Linked DNA regions of Homo sapiens: regions 1, 3, 4, 5, 6 and 7 are each linked to region 2. Evidence: promoter capture Hi-C in human tissues and cell types (Jung and others, 2019). All regions are on one chromosome and are shown on one strand. The core of a region is centred on a gene start or on the middle of the fragment in contact, and the rest is flanking DNA. Distances in the headings are between cores, read along the strand shown.

Region 1 (2,700 bases), core at 201-2,700, 600 kb before region 2:
CTCACGGACTTCTTGTACTTCCTCACTCCCAATGGGCGACGCTTCTGCAGGGCCTGTGACATAGTGCACAACTTCACAGATGCTGTCATCCAGGAGCGGCGTCGCACCCTCACTAGCCAGGGTGTCGATGACTTCCTGCAGGCCAAGGCCAAGTCCAAGACTTTGGACTTCATTGACGTGCTCTTGCTGGCCAAGGTGGGCTACTCTGGGATCTGAATTTCAGAAGTAGAATGGACTTTGACGTGAAATGTCAGATCCATGAACTTGGACTTGATCCAGAGGGCACTGGGGAGCCATGGAAGGTGCTTGAGGAAAGGAGGGACAAGTAAGATATATTTTAGAGGTGACTCTGTAGAAGAGTTCCTAGAAGGAGCAAACAGGAGGCAAGAGACTGGGAAAGAGTCCTGCTAGGCAGGTCTAATGATGATAAGGGAGGAATCTTGCCTGGAATATGGATCTTCATGAACTGTTTTAGGTTAGACTCAGGTGCCTTCATGGCTGGTGTAATTTAGAGGTCTTGTCTTGTCTCCAGGATGAAAATGGAAAGAAGTTGTCAGATGAGAACATAAGAGCGGAGGCTGACACCTTCATGTCTGGGGGTGAGGGTCCCAGGGTGTGATGTCACTAGGGGTAGGAGTGTCTCCATTCCAGGGATGTGGTGAGTGGACCCTGGATCACCCCATCCCATCTTCCTTCCCCACTTCCTTCTGAGGGCCTCAATACATGGGTGCTGTCCACCCTTGGGTGCTGAAGCAGCCCAGAGACCCAAGCTTACCTGGCTGCCCCTCAGGCCATGACACCTCGGCCAGTGGTCTCTCCTGGGTCCTGTACAACCTCGCGAGGTACCCAGAATACCAGGAGCACTGCCGACAGGAGGTGCAAGAGCTCCTGAAGAACGGTGATCCTAAAGAGATTGAATGGTGAGTGTGCAGGTCCTCATGACCTGTTCCTGAGTCCCTCTCATTGGTTTAGCTCTTCAGGTGGGAAAGGGAGAAGGTCTTATTGGTGATTGTGCTATTACTGCCTAGTGGGAATTGGTGCAGAGCTCAGAAACAGGGCCTGGTACTCAGCCTGGAGCAAAGGAAATGTTGCAGGATTTTTGCCTTTACTATCTATTGCAATTAAACTCATTCAATTATTTTTTCTTTTTTGTTACTTCTTTCTTTTTTCTTTTCTTTTTTTTTTTTTTTGAGACAGTCTCACTGTGTCATCCAGGCTGGAGTGCAGTGGCATAATCTCTGCTCACTGCAACCTCTGCCTCCTGAGTTCAGGTGATTCTCCTGCCTCAGCTTCCTGAGGACCTGTGATTGCAGGCATCCGCCACTATGCCCAGCTAATTTTTGTATTTTTAATAGAGACGGGGTTTCACCATGTTGGCCAGGCTGGTCTCGAACTCCAGACCTCAGGGGATTCGCCTACCTCAGCCTACCAAAGTGCTGGGATTACAGGTGTGAGCCACAGCGCCTGGCCAAACCTATTCAGTTCTAATAGATATTGCCGAATTGCCTTTTAGAGTCTCTGCACTGATTAACTCTCCAGTGTGTTGTAGAACTAGTTCTCTTTGTTTCCTCCTTTTTGATAGCTGCATAGTGTTCTCTCATAAGGATGTACTGTAATTCATCAAAACATTTCTCCATTGATGGATATTTGTGTGCTTTCCAGGCTTTTGCTATAACTAACATGATGTAGTGGGCACCCATGTACACTGACCATTGCTTACATCTGTGAGCAGCTTTGCAGTACCAATTCTGAGAAGTGCAGTTGGTGAACTGAAGACCATTTGAGATTGACAATTCAATAGCTCCTACACACACATTTTGAGAATGCCTTCCTCACATTCTCCCCTAAAGTGTCTATTATGAAACTTTAAAACATTTGCCAATCTGATAGATGCAACATAATACTTCAATGAACATCACTTTAAGCCTGGGTAAAGTTGAGCATTGTTTTCACTTACTGACCATGGGTATTTCTTATTCTGTGAAGTGTTTGCACAATTTGTTCCTTCTAGTTTGGGTTTTGTAGTTTTTTTCTTATTGATTTATAAGCACTGCTCACAGATTAAGAAAACTAGTTCTTTTTTTCTGTTTTGCAAAGTTCTTTTTCAGATTGTCTTTGAATTAATTGTTGGTTTTCATTCATTTATTTTGGCTTGATTAATTTATTTGCAGTCAAATTCTTTCCTTTATACGTGCCGTTTTTTGTTTTTTTTATTATTTTTATTATTTTTTTTTTGAGACAGAGTCTTGCTCTGTCACCCAGGCTGGACAGCAGTGGCACCATCTCAGCTCACTGCAACCTCCGCCTCCCGAGTTCAAGTGATTCTCCTCCTCAGCCTCTCAAGTAGCTGGGATTACAAGTGTCCACCACTATGCCCAGCTAATTTTTGTATTTTTAGTAGAGATGGGGTTTCACCATGTTGGCCAGGCCTCAGGTGATCCACCTACCTTGGCCTCCCAGAGTGCTGGGATTACAGGCGTGAGCCACTGCGCCTGGCCATGTTTTTGTTTTTTTAAATCATGCATGGGACATTCTTTCATGCTCTAAAATTAAAATGTAAAACTCATGTTTGTTTTCCTCTGATGGGTTTATTTGTTTTTAAAATATTTTATTTATTATTTTAGTTTAAAAATATTTATTACTTTTTTCTCTATGAAGTCTATGATAGTATAAGAATTGTTGTAGGAATGTATTCATTTT
Region 2 (2,700 bases), core at 31-2,530:
CCCAGGTTCAAGCAATTCTCCTGCCTCAGCCTCTTGAGTAGCTGGGATTACAGGCACCCACCACCTCGCCCAGCTGATTTTTGTATTATTAGCAGAGATGGGGTTTCACCATGTTGGCCAGGCTGATCTTAAACTCCTGACCTCAGGTGATCCACCCACCTTGTCCTCCCAAAGTGCTGGGATTACAGGCATGAGCCACCGCGCCCAGCCTCAGGAGAATCTTTCTAACGTGCTGATGGTCTCTCCCCTGCTCATGCATGCTCCATAGCTCCCTGCCACCCTTGGGAGAAAGCCCAAGCTCATCAGCCTAGAGACTGGGACAGTATGACAAGATGTGACTTGTCAGCTTCTCCATCTCTGCCTCTGTCCACTGACCACACCTGCCCCCCTTCCCCATTTGAGTCCCAACAAATTGGAAATACCAGTTGGGCATGGTGGCTCACACCTGTAATCCCAGCACTTTGGGAGGCTGAGGCAGGGGGATCGCTTGAGCCCAAGGGTTTAAGACCAGCCTGGGCAACATAGTGAGAGCCCCATCTCTATAAAAAAATACAAAAATGAGGTACATGTGGTGGCTCGCACCAGTGGTCCTAGCTACTCGAGAGGCTGAGGTGGGAGGATCACCTGACCTTGGGAGATCGAGCCTGCAATGAGCCATGATTGCACCACTGCACTCCAGCCCAGGCAATAGAGACAGACCCTGTCTCAAAAAAAAAGAAAAGAAGGAAGGAAGGAAGGAAGGGAGGGAGGGAGGGAGAGAGAGAGAGAAAAGAGAAAGAAAGAAAGAAAGACTACTTACACACACACACACACACACACACACACACACACACACACACACCAAATTGCAAATATCCTCCAGCAATGAATAGAAAGTTGTTTTTCCAGATCTTCTCTCCCTTCCTCCCTGGACTGACCTCATGATCTCCTTCCTTGTGAAAAATGTGCAGTCCTGTGGAGAGAGGTGTTGTCTTAACCCGAACCCTGCCTCTGGGGCCTCCTCCCACGGCCTCCTCCCTCCACCCCACACTCACACAGATGGCCTGATGCTGCCACACACAGAGCAGAACCAGGAACCCAGGCGGACGGTACACCCAGATGAAGGCATTCTGTTCCCATTTCCCAGACCACGGAACCAAAGTTGTCAAACCCACTGAGGACCCATCCTGCCCCCCTCTACCTGATACGCTTCCAGCTGCTCGTGTGTGAAGACTGTCTGCTTGTTGCCCATGGTGTGAACCACAGCCCAGACTTGGGGATGCACCCCAAAGGCTCCCAGCTTCCTCGGGGCCACACGGGTTGCCAGGCTGTTGTGTACCAGTGTCTGGGCAAATCTCCCTGCCCTGGCTGTCACCCACCCACCTACGCCATCACCCCCTGCTTGATGAGACTCAAATTACAGCCAGGCTCTCTGGACAACAGCCTGAATGTGTCCATGGGTAAGGATAAGGGCTGTGGGATGTCACAGAGAAGACCTCAGTGGGGAGGCCACATCTGCCACCACAAGGTGAGGCTGGGGTTATGGGGCACACTCAAGAGACAGGCAGGGTATACAGAAGGGCTATGGGCACACTGCAGCTCAAATCCCAGCTCTCTGCCCACTAGCTGTGTGGCCCTGGGCAAGTCACCTGACTTCTCTGAACCTCATTCATGAGATGAAAATTACATTATACCTACCTCATAGGGTCATTCTCAGGATCTGAGATTTAAAAAAAAAAAAAAAAGGTTTTGACTGGGCAAGGTGGCTCACACCTGTAATCCCAGCACTTTGGGAGGGCCAGGCAGGCGGATCACCTGAGGTCAGGAGTTCAAGACCAGCCTGGCCAACACGGCAAAACCCCATCTCTACTAAAAATACAAAAATTAGCTTGGCATTGTGACACATGCCTGTAATCCCAGCTACTCCAGAGACTGAGGCAGGAGAATTGCTTGAACCCAGGAGGTGGAGGTTGCAGTGAGCCGAGATCCCGCCATTGCACTCCAGACTGGGTGACAGAGTAAGACTCCATCTCCAAAAAAAAAAAAAAGGTTTTGGCTGGGCGAGGTGGCTCATACCTGTAATCCCAGCACTTTAGGAGGACAAAGCATGAGATTCACTTGAGGCCAGGAGTTCAAGATCAGCTTGGGCAGCATGGCAAGGCCCTATCTCTACTAAAAATACAAAAATTAGCTGGATGTGGTGGTGCATGCCTGTGGTCCCAGCTACTCAGGAGGCTGAGGTGGGAGGATTGCTTGAGCCCAGGAGTTTGAGGCTGCAGTGAGCCATGATTGCATCACTGCATTGGGAACATAATGGTGAACAAGCTAGATGAAGTTCTGGGGTGTGCATTGACATTATTATTTTATTACATTTTATTTTTTTGAGACAGTCTCACTCTGTTGCCCAGGCTGGAGTGCAGTGGTGTGATCTCGGTTCACTGCAATCTCTGCCTCCCAGGTTCAAGTGATTCTCCTGCCTCAGCATCCCAGGTAGCTGGGACCACAGGTGTCCACCATGCCAAGCTAATTTTTTTTGTATTTTTTTTTTTTGAGACGGAGTCTCGCTCTGTCACCCAGTCTAGGGTGCAGTGGCGTGATCTCGGCTCACTGCAAGCTCCACCTCCCGAGTTCAGGCCATTCTCCTGCCTCAGCCTCCCGAGTAGCTGGGATTATTACAGGCGCCCACCACCACGCCTGGCTAAGTTTTGTATTTTTAGTAGA
Region 3 (2,700 bases), core at 182-2,681, 790 kb before region 2:
AAAACGCTCCCGGAAACACAAGAAATCAGGGAAGCTTAACTATCTCCAGTGTGTCTGAAAGGTTTTCGGCAGGTAGGAAGAGGGGGTAAAAAAAACCTCTCCAAACTAAGAATGAAAAGAAGGAATACAATACCTGCAGAAAAGATCTGATGGGAAAGAAGGGAAAGAATGGTGAAATCTACCCAGGCTGCGGAAGACCAGGAGAGCCAGGCTGAGCCTTCGCTAGGACCCGGAAGACACCAAAGCACACCGCGCACGCTGCCGCCTCAGGACCGAAACCTCTCTCTGCAATTTCTGGTGCTGGGATACTTTTGCCCTGCCACTTCTCAAGATCGACAACTTCTCGAGCTCCTGCAGCCAGGATCAGACCACTAGCTTCTCTACAACCAGTCGAGCTCCACCCAGCATGTCCCAACTATCCCCTGTGGGCAAACTTTGCTCCCAAAAGGCTCTGATTCCAGAAGCAGGGAGCAGGCAGCTCGAGAAGATCGGCCCTACTGCAGGCCAAGCGCTAAATCCTAGTGGGGAAAGGACACGTTCCCTCCTGCACAGCCCCTCGGCCCCTCCAGGCCACCACAACAGACTGCCTAAAGGAGAACTGCCAATGTCACCAGCCCCAGGGCACATCAGGTTTCCAGCTTTATACGAACACTCAGCATCTGCCCCTCACCATCCTGTCCCAAGCCAGCACGCGCCGGGTACAGAGCTGGAGCCCGGCGAGGCTGACTCTCGCGCCGGCAGCACTCGGCCCCACCGCGCTGCACCGGGGACTAAAGGCCCGACCCCGCGCAGCCCGACGGCTTCCGGGACAGGCGCCCTGGGCCACGTGAGCCCAGCGGAGACCCTACACGGCCCCGCGGGCCTAGGGCAGGTCGGGAGAGAGGCGGCCCCCGCGGTCCGCCCGCGGCCCCAGACCCAGCTCCCCGGGTCCGACCTCACAACCCCACGCTGTAGCTCCGCCCCCCTAGCGCCGCCATTTTGTGGCGTCTTCGGAAGAGGAAGCCGGGAGTGCAAACCCCGGGGTCGCTGGGGGCCGGAAGGACTCCGCCGAAGGTGAGGGGCAAAAACGGCCCACACTGTCTAAGACGCCCCCACGAAGCCCACCGCGGCGTCTGCCCCAACCCCGAGTCCCGCCCGCCTCCTCGGGGCCTGGCGGCCAATCCGCACGCAGAGCCCCGGGAGCGACGGCGCCAAAGCCCAATGAGCGGCGCGCGCGCGCCCTGGCCGCCTCTCCGGAGGGCCCAGCTGGGGCAACCACGCTCGGGACGAAGGCCCGGCCGGCGGCAGTCTGCGCAGCGGCTGCGTCGCCCGCACAGAGCCTTCCCTCCCCGCTCCGCACCCAGCAGCCAACACAAACCTCCGTAGCCCTGGTCCATGTCTTCGACGCGGCCCACCAGCAGCCCCGTTTACTAGGCGACCACAGCACGCATGCGTTCAGCGCACCTCCGCCATCGACTACTGGAAGACCAGGCGCACACGTCACTACTTCCGCGCGCCCCCATTGGCTGGTCTTCACGAGGGCCCGCCCTCGCCGTCCCAGCTGGCCTTTCGGGCTGCTACGATCCAGCTCCGTGGCCTAATGGGAGTTGTGGTCCCACCGCGGTGCCCGACGGCCCGGCCCGCGCGCATGCGCACCCCGCCCCTCTGCCCACCCCGCCCCGCCCGCGCGGCACAGTAACAGAGAAACCCGGAGGTGGGATGGGAAAACTTTATTAGGTTTGGTTTCCAGCTTCGGCCACGCGGGCTCCGCCCGCCCCGAGCTCGGGTCACGGGGCGCCCCCGCCGCCCTCCTCGTCGTCCTCCACGTCGAGGCCCGGGATGCCGCGGATCTGGCGTTGCAGCGCCCCTCCCAGCAAGGGCACGGCGCCCTCCTCCTCCTCCTCTGGGGGCGGCGGCGGTGGCGGCGACACGGCCCCGGGGGCTGGCTCTGGGGGCACGGGAGGCTGCGCCGGCACGCCCTCTGCGCCCTCCGAGATCCCTGCCGCTTCGCCCTGCGCCCCCTCGTCCAGGGCACCGCCCTCAGCCTCCTCCTGCTCCTTCTCCTCCTCGGGGCTGTCGGTGAAAGGGTTCTCGCCCTGTGGGGAGGGGCGCGGACACTGAAGGGAGGGAGCACAGGCGGGGACTAAGCTGGGGACAGGGCAGGCCCGGACCAGTGCCTCACCTTCAGGTAGCGCTCCAGCTTCTTGCTGATGAGCTTGTTGTTGAGAATACTGCGGGCCACCATGAGGGAGGACTTCTTGGACTGCTCCATCATGAGCTGCGGGCAGGGCAGAAGGAGCTGGAGAGGCTGCTCTGAGTGCCCTACAAGTTGCTGCCCCGACCCTGCCAGCTTAGAGGGACCCCACCCCGCCCCTGCACCCACGCACTTCCAGCCCCACCAACGGAGGGCCACTCCACAAGCATGGAACCACAACCTATCTGATCTTTGTTCAAATTCCCTCTCCTTCCACACCACACTTACTGTAGGTAAATAAAAATACAGATCTATATATCTCTAACTTTACGGCTGTATTACAGAAATCTGATTTGCTTACAAAAAAGCTATAAGCAGTGAACAATTAAGAAACTAAGAGCCAAAGGTGGGTGCAACCTGTAACAAGGTGCCAACTAGGCTAATAGGCAAGGAGCACTTTGGGGCCAACGGGGAAGATATAAAAACAGGAACAGATATTTAATGAAACGTCTTTTTTAACCCACAGA
Region 4 (2,700 bases), core at 121-2,620, 750 kb before region 2:
CTTGGAAAGCTCCTGACCTGGCAGCCAGGGTAGAGGGGACTGGCACTACCTTCTTGCCTATGCCAACATAAAGTGGTCTACAAAGGAGCCCCACAGACTCACGTTGCATTCTCAGTTCTCAAAATTCCAAGTAGAATGCAGGTTACCTGGCAACCACACACGCTCAAGCCTATAATACCCTCACCAAACAGGGAGGCCTAGTGTAAGTCTCCTGGCCGAGAAGCCTCATCAGTCACTGCCAAGGCAAACCCAGGAGGCCTTGGCAATTCACCCAGTGATGATTTACAGTCGCCCAAGCATATTGCGGGGGGCGGAGAGGGGCTCTCGGATCTGTCACCCACTCTCCCTTTCAAATCCCATTGGCCTCCCACTGGCCTCCCTGGCTGATCTTCTAACAAGCCAGGCAGTTCCTGCCCGTAAGCCTTTTACAGCAAAAGCTCCCTGGGCCAGATATCTTTATTCGCTCCCTCCATTTAGGTCTCTGCTCAAATGTCACCTCTTTACAGAAGGCTCCAACCACTCCACGTAGTGGAGCGACCCCCGCACGGTACTGACCACCCTAAAATATATCCTACACTCGCTTATTTGCCTATTAAGATCCTCGCCTCTAAGCTGCTTGAGGAATTCTTGTCTGTATTCCCAATACCCAGTCTGTACCGGACACGGTTCATTTGACAGACGCAGAGGGAATTAACATGGAACCTTGTCATTCCTTGCAGTTCAGCCCCTAGGGGCCCAAGGCTCCCCGCTCAGCCCAAACCCTTCCAATATTTACTTATCCCCCTAGGGCCTGGCGCCTTTCCCAGTTCTGAAATAGACAAAAGGGGGTGGTGGGTGGGATCGGGATGGGGGTGTAGAGCTGCGGCGTTTTTGCAGAGAAACTGCGCGGGGGAGGACGCGACAATGGCGACGGCAGCCGAGCCTGCTGCCTGCTCGCAAGGACCAAGGCCTGAGAAAGGGAAACCTAAGGCGTCGAGGTCCAGGAGCGCAGGCCAGGGACGGAGGTGGTGGGGGCGGAGACCTCGTGCGCTGAGGCCCGGACCCACGGACACAGGCGACAGAAGCCAAGACATCAGGCGGCCGGGAGCCGGGACGCCGGCTGCAGACACAGAGAGCTGAGGCAACGAGGCGTGAGGGCAGCGACCCTGAGGCGACGGGCCAGCGGCGCCATTTTGTGACCGCAGGGAAGGCAGTGACGGGGCCCCAGGGGAGGTGCGGGCAAGCCTGGTGCGGCATCCGCACGTCCCTGTCCCATCCCCCACGCAGAGCCCGACCCCACCCTGCCAGGCCCACCTGTGTAGCTCATGGTGGCGGGCAACACAACATCCGACGACGCCGGCTTCTGCTGCTCTGAACATCCGACGCTGCGATAGCTGCTGCTAACCACAGGGTCCCCTCCACACACACCCGAGCCCCGCCTCCCGACCGCATTGGCTCATACCGGCCTCGGCTTCACGTCTATTGGAAGGAACCGCTGTCTATCTCTATGCCTCCTCATATCAGTGGCTGGAAGCTGCTGGCAATCTCGTGAGAGCCCCGCCTTGTCCCCGCCTTCTGTTATTCTAAGGCCTCAGTGATTGGCCTACAGAAGCCGGCAGAGAGGCGGAGTCCTATAGAATTTGAGGGGGCGGAGCTGTGCACTACGGAAAGGCCCAAGGCCCAAGCATGGTCGGGCTGGAGGAGCGCCCGTACCCTGGAGACCCGCCAGAGGGAGTCGGGTCTACGGCTCAGGGCAGGGCTGGGATGCCAACTCCGCCACCGAGGTGCTGGGTAGGGGACCTAGCTAAGTCTCTCAAATTCTCTGGCCTTCGGCTCCAAAACAAGCATAGCAAAGCCATGTTGAGAAGAGAAAATTAAAACAGCACCAAACAAGATGCTGGACACACGTTTCAACATTACGTGACAAAGTGTGTGTAAAGAAATCATTCTGGTGCCAGTGCACTGAATAAATGTGATTAATCGTAACAAAACGATAATATATTTATATGGCATATGCTTATATGTGTAATAATTCCGTTTGTATTGTGTGTCATTCGAATGCTCCTTCAAACCTGCAAAAAGCTTTTAATCCTCACTTAAAACTGAAGCTTGGAACTCATGATTTGCTCAAGGTCCTTGACAGTTACGTGTTAAAATGGGAGCTTTGCTTCTAAAACCCTCCTGATTCACTCTGGGCTCGAGAGATCCTGCAATAGTGCAGCCGGGCACCAGTCATGTCCTCAGTCTGTTTCCTGGGCATATGGAAACCCTGCCAGGGACAACTCATAATTTCTAGAGATGACAGAGCTGCACCGAAGAGTACTTAACACGTGTGTTTGTGAAAACTCATTAAGCTGCGCAATTACGACTTCTACGCTTCGTGTGTTTTAAAACTTTTTTTAAGGTATGCTGTTTCTTTTTGATATTGTTGATTTCTTTAGGTGTAATAGTGGCATTTACAACGTTGAGAGAAACATACTGAAATACTAAGAAGTTAACTGATCTTATGGCCAGGATGTGCTTCACACAATTCAGACAGGTAGAGAGAGGAGGAGGAAGCAAGGAGCTATAAGATAAATCTCTGACAGCTGAAGACATTGGTCATGGGTTGGTGATGGATAGATGAGAGTCCATTTTACTGTTTGCTCTACTTTTGTATAGTTGGAATTCTCCATGATAAACTGTTTTAATAAAACTCCCCCCACCCAAATGAGGCTTCTG
Region 5 (2,700 bases), core at 6-2,505, 530 kb before region 2:
ACTGTTTATGTAGAGCACTTGGCACTCAGTAGGCATGTGTTATGTAGACAGCAACTGGTGCTCAGTGGGCACTCTTCATATACAGGGGGTGGCACTCAATAGGCACTCACTATGTAGAGCAGGTGGCACACAGTAGGCACTCTATGAGGAATATCAGGAACTGAGTATACAGGGTTAATGTAGAGCACCTGGCACACAGTAGGCACACTTTATGGAAAGCACTTGGCACAGAGTAGACAGGATTTAGCACCTGGCACACAGTAGCTGCCCTTCATTTAGAGTATTGGCACACAGTAGAAGTACTTTCCATGCAGCCTTTGTGCAGAGTAGAGACTGGCACACAGCAGCTCAAGTGCTAGTTGCCACCCTTTCCCTTCACTCCTTTTTGGGGCTCCCTCCTCTTAGGAGCCCTCATTGTCCCCCGCTAAGGCCCTCATCGAACATCCCATTTCCCAGATGGGAAGACTGCACCCAGGAGGGGCAGTACTGACCAAAGTCAGAGCAAGGATGAGGCAGAATGAGGACTCCATTCATGGTTCCCTGGCTCTGCCCTTCCCCTGCCTGGACCCCATCCGTTCCCTCTCATCCTAACCCTCCACGTCCCCGCTCTGTCCTCCTATACTGAGTCCGGCCTCCAGATTTGCTTTTCCAGCTGAGCTCTTAATCTCCAGAATCTGACCCAGGTAATCCTCAGTGGGGCTGGATTCTTTGTTCCCGTTCCTAGCAGTCAGGTCTCCAACAGGGCCCTGGACTGCCTGGAGGCAAGACTTGAACTCCATCCAGCAGCAGGGGGATAGAGGCTTGTCTCTTCCAGGTTGCCTGATTCAGCATCCAGAAGTGGTACACGGTGTCCTACCGGCCCAGGGTTAGAGAGGAGCACAGGAGATGATCTGGAACAAGGCTTGGCCTGGCCTGGCTCGCTTGACACCTGAACTCTCAAGTTCATGCTTTTATCTGCCACACACTCAGTAGGTGCTCTTTAAGAGCAGGTGTCACACAGTGGAAACTCTATCTGACCCCTCTCGGCTTACTCTCCACCTTATGTGGGAGGTGCTGAGACCTGAGGATCCAGTGCCTGTGCTGTGTCACCCTGAGCTGGTTCCTCTGCATCCAGCTGGTCTCCCACACCCAGGTTTTGGCCAGCTGCCCAGACATGGGAGCGGCACCCAGGCTGTGGGGATTGGCTGGCCCAGCCCAGCCCAGCCTAGCCTCCCACAGCCTTCCCTACATCAGGGGCCAGGGGAAAAAACCTCCCAGAAGAAGGGGAGAGGAGGTTGTGTGGGACAAGGTGCTCCTGACAGAAGGTGCCAGGGTGGGGGTGGTGGGCCTGGGGCATCCTAGCCTGTGATGGAGATGGGCACTGGGCAAGGGATTGGGCGCACACATAGGGGAGCCCCAGCCTTCCCACATTCTCCATTGCTGCCCAAGGCCCAGGCAGCTCCTGGTTGCTGGCTTGGAGGATGAGTGGTTTTCTAACTGAAACCAAGCCCCTGGCAACGTCCTAATGATTCAGGCTGGGCCTTTCTGGACTTTAATCAGTTTCTCTGTCTTTCTCAATCTAAGTGCTTACCGGGTAACTGGAGGCCACTTGGTTGCTGGTTTTGGCTGGGCCTTTCTGGACTTTACCCCTCAGCCCCTGTTTATCCATCCCTGTTTACTCTTACTGTTCTATCTCCAGCACTGCCCGTCTCTGCCTCTCTCCACTGTCCCTGGAGCTCCCTGGGCCCTTCCCTGGGCCTCAGGACCTCACTCACCACCCCATCTGCCCTGCAGGATGCCACAGCTGAGCCTGTCCTCGCTGGGCCTTTGGCCAATGGCAGCATCCCCGTGGCTGCTCCTGCTGCTGGTTGGGGCCTCCTGGCTCCTGGCCCGCATCCTGGCCTGGACCTATACCTTCTATGACAACTGCTGCCGCCTCCGGTGTTTCCCGCAACCCCCGAAACGGAATTGGTTCTTGGGTCACCTGGGCCTGGTGAGTGTGGCAGCAGGACGGGTCTGGGGTCTCAGGGTGGATGGACTTCCTGAGGGGTAAGAATGAGGCTCAGGTGAGAGGGGGTGGGCTGGGGTCTGGGGTGGCAGAGAAGCAGGGGAGGCGTCTTACTCATTCCTCTGCTTACTCATTTCTGTGAGGTGCCAACCCAAGCCCTTCTCACCTCCCTGTTCTCCCACTCTTGGCCTGTGTTGAATCCTTTTCCTGCCTGTCTTTCCACATTAATGCACCTCTGCGGGGCTCTTGGGCAGGGGGTTGGGTGCACAGAAAGGTGAACCCCTGGCGTTCCCACATTCTCCATTGCTGGACTCGAGGCCTCCTGTACCCACTGTTCAGGGTCCTCTCCCTACCTGGCCTATTTCCTCTTATGAGGGTATAGGTGGGCCAGAGGAGAGGTGTGGGCTGTCTCTCACCTCCACCACATCCGGAGGCACCTTCCTCTTATCTTGTTCCTCCCCAGTAAGATGTCCCAATGGGGTCCTGTTGCCAAACCCACATAAAAGTTGGCCACTCACTTCCCCTTTCAGAAGCCTTCCCTGACCTTTCTCCTCCCCCAGACCTTGCCCTCTGACTTAGACCTGCTCTCCCCTTTGCGGAACGTGGTCTCAATCTGCTCATTGCAAATGGCAGGATTGATGGGTGTGTCCACAGGTGAAGTGGGAGGGTGCACAGGATGCACTAGCACAGAGCCTGGTGCAGAAGCTTCTCCC
Region 6 (2,769 bases), core at 114-2,613, 720 kb before region 2:
ACAGATCCTGCACTGCCTCAGTTTACCCATATTGACACATGCACACTCAGCCACCTGGTCTTCTTCCATCAATCTTACCATTTCTCCAGACGCCTCCCTTCATTCACACACAGCTGCACTTTCCCCAGTCCTGCCCTCACATCCATGCACACGCACATCCTACTGCCATGCCTTCGTTTCCTCGGCAAGAATCCCAGCCACTTGTACACTCTGATCCTATACACCGTCAGGAGTCTCCCATCATTACCCCTTTACTTTTCTCCATTGGGTTGTCCCATACCAATGATCCCTGCACTTTTCCCACACTCCAACCCTTCCCCCACACAGGACCTTAGGGTTCTCCAGCATTAACCCCTTCACCCCCCTCCACACACACAGCCTCAAGTGACCCCAGCATTAACCCTTTCGCTTCTCCCCAACATTATCCCTCATGCATACCCAGCTTGGGCTCCTCCATTCCCCCCACCCCCCAACCAAGATTGCTCTAGTCCTCGGGCGAAAGAAAACGATAGGGCTCCTGGTCCAGAAATGAGGACCCTGGGGAGCGGGGGTTGTCCTCTCTACCTATAAATACCTTCAAGGTAACGGCGGAAAGTGAAGGGCAGGAATGAGGCGCCCTCCCCAGGGAGATGGTGGGGAGGCCGGGCCCAGGCAACCGGGGCGGGGCCGGGGCGCCAGGCCTGGTTGCAGGCGCTGCCCTCGGGGGCCTGGGGATTCCCAGGGGGCTCCTCCGTGGGCTGGCAGTCTTGGTGGGGGTCCCTACCCAGGCCCGGAGGAAGCACCTGCGGTTGTCCACTGGGTGGGCACTGCCCGCGGGGAACGGGCGGGACCGCAACTTCGGAGCACTTTGGCAGCGTGGGGAGGGGGCTCCTACCCGGACGCCCCCCAGGGGTCGCAGAGGTGGGGGCTGCGCCGCGCGGGCCCACTCCTCGGGGGTCCAGGGTCCGGGGGATGAGCCCTCCGCCCGTGCACCCCGGGGCAGGAGACCCCGCGGGACGCGCCGAGGTAGGGGGGACACCTGCCCCAAGACCCCCGCCCCTCCCCCCACCTGCACGGCCCCGCCCCCGGCCAGGCCCCGCCCCTGAAGGCCCCGCCCCCGCCCCCGCCCCGGGGGGTCCCGCCTGGCCCGGCCCGGCCCGGGGCCTCCCCCGCCCCGCTACGGCTCCGCCCCACCCGCGGGCTCCCCAGGCCGGGCCGGGCCTCACCGGGGAGGCGGCGCCGCCGGCCAGGTGCCGGGGCTCGGAGCTCCCCTCCTTGGTGCGGCCGTCGCTGCCGCTACCGCCGCTGCCGCTCCCGGTGCCGGTGCCGCGGCCTCCGCAGCCGCCGCCGCCTCCACCGCTCGGGGGACATTGTCCCTTTAAATCGCTCCCCCCGCCGCCCCGCCCCCCCGGCGCGCCGCCGTGACCTCAGCGCGACAGCCCCGCCGCGCCGCCATGATGGGGAGGTCCGGGGCGCCCCCCCCACCCCACCCCCCCCCCCCTCGCCGCCCCGGGGGGGGCGGCCAGCGGGCGCGCCGCCATGTTGGGAGTGGCCAAGCGGGTCACCCTTAAAGGGCCCGCACGGCCTGAGTCCAGGGAGAGGCCCCGTTACCATGACAACACCCTTGTCGTCCCACACCCCAATGGCTCCTTATCGTCCCACTGGTACTTCCAATGGTAGGCTCGCTAAAAGCACTAAAAGAGTGGGGAGGGTGCAGAGAAGTTCCCCCATGGGTCATTGATGGGTCATTGATAGGTCATTGAAGACTCCACCCAGCCAATTTTTAGCCTTTTGTCCCCTGCCCCCCATCAGCTACCTTCCAACCACAAGCTCACTCCCTCCTTCCCAATCATCCACACTGGACTTCAGCACCTCCATGTCCCTAGAGTTGCCCTAGGTCTTCAGTCCTAAGTCACCTTCTCCACCCAGTTCCCAGGATCACAGCTTCCAGGACTACCCCATCAGACACACATCATGGCCTGTTGTCTTGTCTTATCCACCATGTATCCAGATATCTAACCACCTAGCTATCTCATCCACTTCCTCAATCTATCAATCACTCATCTACCTATCCAATGAACTAATCACCTATCCACCCACCCCTCCAACCACCTATTAATTCACCCAAACACCCACTCAACCCACCCATTCACTTCCCATCTACCCACCCATTCATCCAGCACCCAAGTAAATACTCATTTATCCATACAACCAAGCAAGTACCCAACCATCCCCACACACATCTTTCCGCCCAGCCCCCCAAACATCCATCCACCAGTTTGTCTGTTGATTTGGTCCCTCCACTAACATGTAAGTTCCATGAGGCCAGGAGTCCTGTCTAGTTCATTATTGTTTCTCCACTGCCCAGTTCTCAGGCGTCTCAGGAGACCTCAACATATGTACATATGATATATATAATCACAACATTGAAAAAAATTTTTTCTTACTATGAACCAGGCCTTTTCTAGGCAGACATACCCAACCTGGTTAACCAACTACCCAGCTACTCACCTACCAGGTCAAACATCCAGCAAATGCTAACCTATCCGTCTGCCGTTTGCTCCACCCACTCTACCCCTCACCCATCCACTCACCCATGATTTGAATGACTCATTTACCCAATCATTCATACACAGTATCCAACCATCTCCACACCTGACCCCCTTCCTTTATCCGCCTCCCAGACCCATGGCCTCCGTGACATGAGGAGGGCCTAGGAAGATGCTCTCACTGTGGGATTGGGAGGTTGCCAGGGGTGGAATCCATGCTTCATTGAGAAGCAGGTGCTGC
Region 7 (2,700 bases), core at 98-2,597, 970 kb before region 2:
ATCTCTGTTACGTGACCTAGAGCTATGTGTGCCAGCGAGTGTGTCACAGGCCATGTGTGTGCGCCGCTGGTCCGGCGGAGGCGGCGGCTCCTGCCTGGTCCTGCCCCGTCCGGGCCCCGGGGCTGGGCTGGGGAGGCCGTTCACTCCCGAAACCCCCACCCCGCCCAGCGCCAAGCCCCACACTGGCGTCTGGGACCCCTGGCCAGGGGCCTTGGCCCGCGCCCCTCCCCCGCCCACCAGGCCTCCCGTAGCGGTGAGGGGGGTGCCCCCGCAGCCCCCTCCCCGGCCCAGCCGCGGGTCCCGCTTTGTCTGGCAAAGAAAGCGCGAGGCCGGCCGGAGGGAGGGGGTGTCTAGACGGCGCGGCCATTGTCCCGAGCGGGGGAGGGGAGGGAGGAGAGGAGGAGGGGCGGGGGCCCCTGGCCGGCTGGGGAGGGGCTCTGGCCGCGGGGAGGGGGCGCTGGAGCCGAAGGGGAGCACGTGGGCCCTCGCCCCTTCCCCTCCCCGCGCAGGGGCGGGGTCCCAGGGCCTCCGGGTCCCCGCGGCCAGAGGAGAGAGGCGGGCTGCGGGCGGGGGAGGGGGCGCGCGCGCCGCCGAGGCTCCGGCTCGGAATCCGGCTCCGGGTCTTGCTGCGCGCCGGCCTGGGAAGTTTTCTCCGAGTTCAGAGCTCCCAGAACTTCGCGCCCCCTCCCCACCCCCCGCCTGGCCCAGCCCGCCCGGGGTGTCGGGGGCGGGGTGGGGGGGCTTTTGTGCGAGAGGTCCCCGGCCTAGAAGTACCTGGGCCCCCAATCATAACCTACCCAGGACTCCAGGCGTGAGTTGGATGGGGACGAGTCCCGAACTCTGTACGCACCCCCCCACCTCGAGTCCCTGATCCCCGCACCTCGAGCTCCCAGTCTCGGACTCCTGGGTCCCTTCATCTTCAGCTCTAATCGCTCAAGGGTCCCTGTTCCTTGGGCCTCTGGGGTCCTCCCCATTCTGAATCTCTGGGTCCTCCAGGACTGGCATGAAGCCCGGGGCTCCTGCGCCCCTTCCCCGACCCTGGTTCCTGCCTCCCATGAACCCCCGCCAGCCCCGGCCTTGGGGGTTCTTGCACTCCCCCTCTGCCGCCCTCGTCCCATCCGCCAGGTCCCGGCCCCTCACCTGCAGCCCCCGGCCCCGCTAGCAGCAGCAGCAGGGGCAGCGCCCGCACGGGTGGCGGTGGCGGTGGCGGCGACATCGGGCGACGGCGGCGGCGGCGGCCACGGGCCCCCGGCCCCATGGCGGCCGGCCGCGACCCTCCCCTCCTCCCTCCTTCCCTGGGCTCCGGGCGCGTCCCGGGCCAGCCTCCGCGCCGCCAACTTCGCCGAAGTGAGGCGGCCGGGCCGCCCCGCCCCCAGCCCTCGAAGGCTCGCCCCGCCCCGGGGCCGGCCCAGCGCGCCCCCGCCCCCCGCCCGGCCTCCCGGGGTCCCTGCCCACCCTCCACCCGCACAGCCTGGGACGCGCGGACCCTCGGAAACCCAGGCCGAGCATGCAGTGAGACGCGGGCAGAACCCGGAGTGGCGGGCACACCCAACCTCGTGAACGCCCACGCACCCCATCCCCATCCCCCAGTACACACCCAGAGCCGGACACCTCTGGAGCCGGGACAAAAAACACAGCCTCCCAGAAACTCTGGAAACTGAGGCCAGTCACGTCCTGAGAGGCTCATGGACCCACAGCCACGGACGCACAAATGCAAGCCCATGCACCAAGCTTCCCCAGGACTCTGATCTAAAACATTCACAAACCTAAAAGTCGGACCGGGCGCGGTGGCTCCGGCCTGTAATCCCAGCACTTTGAGAGGCAGAGGTGGATGGATCACTTGAGGTCAAGAGTTGGAGACCAGCCTGGCCAACATGGTGAAACCCGGACTCTACTGAAAATACAAAAATTAGCTGAGCGTGGTGGCGCACGCCTGTAGTCCCAGCTATTCGAGAGGCTGAAGCAGGAAAATCGCTTCAACCCAGGAGGCTGAGGTTGCACTTAGCCGAAATCGTACCACTGCGCTCCAGCCTGGGCAACAGAGTAAGACCCTGTCTCAAACAAAACAAACAAACAAAAAACCGCTAAAACTCACTCAGCCAGGCCAGGAGCCTAGGACTACATTTGCAGCCTCAGACCTCAGACACGTACTAGGAGTCACATGCATGTGTGTGTGTTCACACATGCACACACAAACTCTTCTTGCTCTCAGCCCTCCCAGAAAGCAACCCACTTCCTCTGTGACTCTCAAAGGGTCACCCCAGCCCCCTAGTCCCACCCCCATACCCCACACAGCTTTGGGCCTCAGCCTATCTGGCTCAATTTGATTAATTCTCTTTTCTTTTTTTTTTTTTTTTTGAGACAGCGTGTCGCTCTGTCACCCAGGCTGGAGTGCAGTGTCCCTATCTTGGCTCACTGCAAGCTCTACCTCCCAGGTTCAAGCGATTCTCCTTCCTCAGCCCCCACCCCCACAATCTGCCAAGTAGCTGGGATTAGAGGTGTGCGCCACCATACGTGGCTAATTTTTTCTGGGTTTTTGTTTACTTGTTTGTTTGTTTTTGAGACGGAGTCTCGCTCTGTTGCCCAGGCTGAAGTGCAGTGGCATGATCTCCGCTCACTGCAAGTTCCGCCTCCTGGGTTCACACCATTCTCCTGCCTCAGCCGTCCGAGTAGCTGGGACTACAGGCAACTGGCACCATG

The links. Contacts are between HindIII fragments. The study calls those that stand out against the background at their distance.
Region 1: a fragment that was not itself captured here is called in contact with the fragment with the promoter of CIB3 in region 2 in 1 of the 25 tissues and cell types used here (dorsolateral prefrontal cortex).
Region 3: a contact is called between the fragment with the promoter of AKAP8 here and the fragment with the promoter of CIB3 in region 2, in 1 of the 25 tissues and cell types used here (adrenal gland).
Region 4: a contact is called between the fragment with the promoter of AKAP8L here and the fragment with the promoter of CIB3 in region 2, in 2 of the 25 tissues and cell types used here (mesenchymal stem cells and spleen).
Region 5: a contact is called between the fragment with the promoter of CYP4F3 here and the fragment with the promoter of CIB3 in region 2, in 6 of the 25 tissues and cell types used here (IMR-90 fibroblasts, adrenal gland, dorsolateral prefrontal cortex and 3 more).
Region 6: the fragment with the promoter of WIZ here is called in contact with the fragment with the promoter of CIB3 in region 2 in 2 of the 25 tissues and cell types used here (dorsolateral prefrontal cortex and spleen).
Region 7: the fragment with the promoter of NOTCH3 here is called in contact with the fragment with the promoter of CIB3 in region 2 in 3 of the 25 tissues and cell types used here (IMR-90 fibroblasts, mesendoderm cells and pancreas).

The regions. Positions count from the first base shown.
Region 1 is chr19:15,576,641-15,579,340 of GRCh38, forward strand. It overlaps the pseudogene CYP4F23P. Among named protein-coding and RNA genes, the nearest start is that of CYP4F8, 37 kb to the right of the region's middle. The HindIII fragment of the contact is 3,197 bases long and covers 1-2,700 here.
Region 2 is chr19:16,172,245-16,174,944 of GRCh38, forward strand. CIB3 (calcium and integrin binding family member 3) reads right to left here and starts at 1,281. Exons shown (of 6, transcript NM_054113.4): 1 at 1,181-1,281; 2 at 918-952. The coding sequence starts at 1,231. The HindIII fragment of the contact is 31,728 bases long and covers 1-2,700 here.
Region 3 is chr19:15,378,356-15,381,055 of GRCh38, forward strand. It overlaps AKAP8 (A-kinase anchoring protein 8), which reads right to left and starts at 1,432. Exons shown (of 14, transcript NM_005858.4): 1 at 1,358-1,432. The coding sequence starts at 1,376. It overlaps AKAP8L (A-kinase anchoring protein 8 like), which reads right to left. Exons shown (of 14, transcript NM_014371.4): 13 at 2,162-2,257; 14 at 1,695-2,075. The coding sequence ends at 1,767. RefSeq lists enhancers at 573-1,488, 1,423-1,717, 1,489-2,403 and silencers at 678-1,227, 1,568-2,057. The HindIII fragment of the contact is 19,214 bases long and covers 1-2,700 here.
Region 4 is chr19:15,417,618-15,420,317 of GRCh38, forward strand. AKAP8L (A-kinase anchoring protein 8 like) reads right to left here and starts at 1,371. Exons shown (of 14, transcript NM_014371.4): 1 at 1,294-1,371. The coding sequence starts at 1,306. It overlaps WIZ (WIZ zinc finger), which reads right to left. Exons shown (of 13, transcript NM_001371589.1): 13 at 2,361-2,700. The HindIII fragment of the contact is 22,741 bases long and covers 1-2,700 here.
Region 5 is chr19:15,639,642-15,642,341 of GRCh38, forward strand. CYP4F3 (cytochrome P450 family 4 subfamily F member 3) reads left to right here and starts at 1,256. Exons shown (of 13, transcript NM_000896.3): 1 at 1,256-1,304; 2 at 1,774-1,972. The coding sequence starts at 1,775. The HindIII fragment of the contact is 9,363 bases long and covers 1-2,700 here.
Region 6 is chr19:15,448,593-15,451,361 of GRCh38, forward strand. WIZ (WIZ zinc finger) reads right to left here and starts at 1,364. Exons shown (of 13, transcript NM_001371589.1): 1 at 1,206-1,364. MIR1470 (microRNA 1470) reads left to right here and starts at 956; the gene lies at 956-1,016. RefSeq lists silencers at 629-738, 1,089-1,208, 1,259-1,388. The HindIII fragment of the contact is 11,591 bases long and covers 1-2,769 here.
Region 7 is chr19:15,199,648-15,202,347 of GRCh38, forward strand. NOTCH3 (notch receptor 3) reads right to left here and starts at 1,348. Exons shown (of 33, transcript NM_000435.3): 1 at 1,141-1,348. The coding sequence starts at 1,258. RefSeq lists a silencer at 418-644 and enhancers at 1,231-1,732, 1,733-2,232. The HindIII fragment of the contact is 7,500 bases long and covers 1-2,700 here.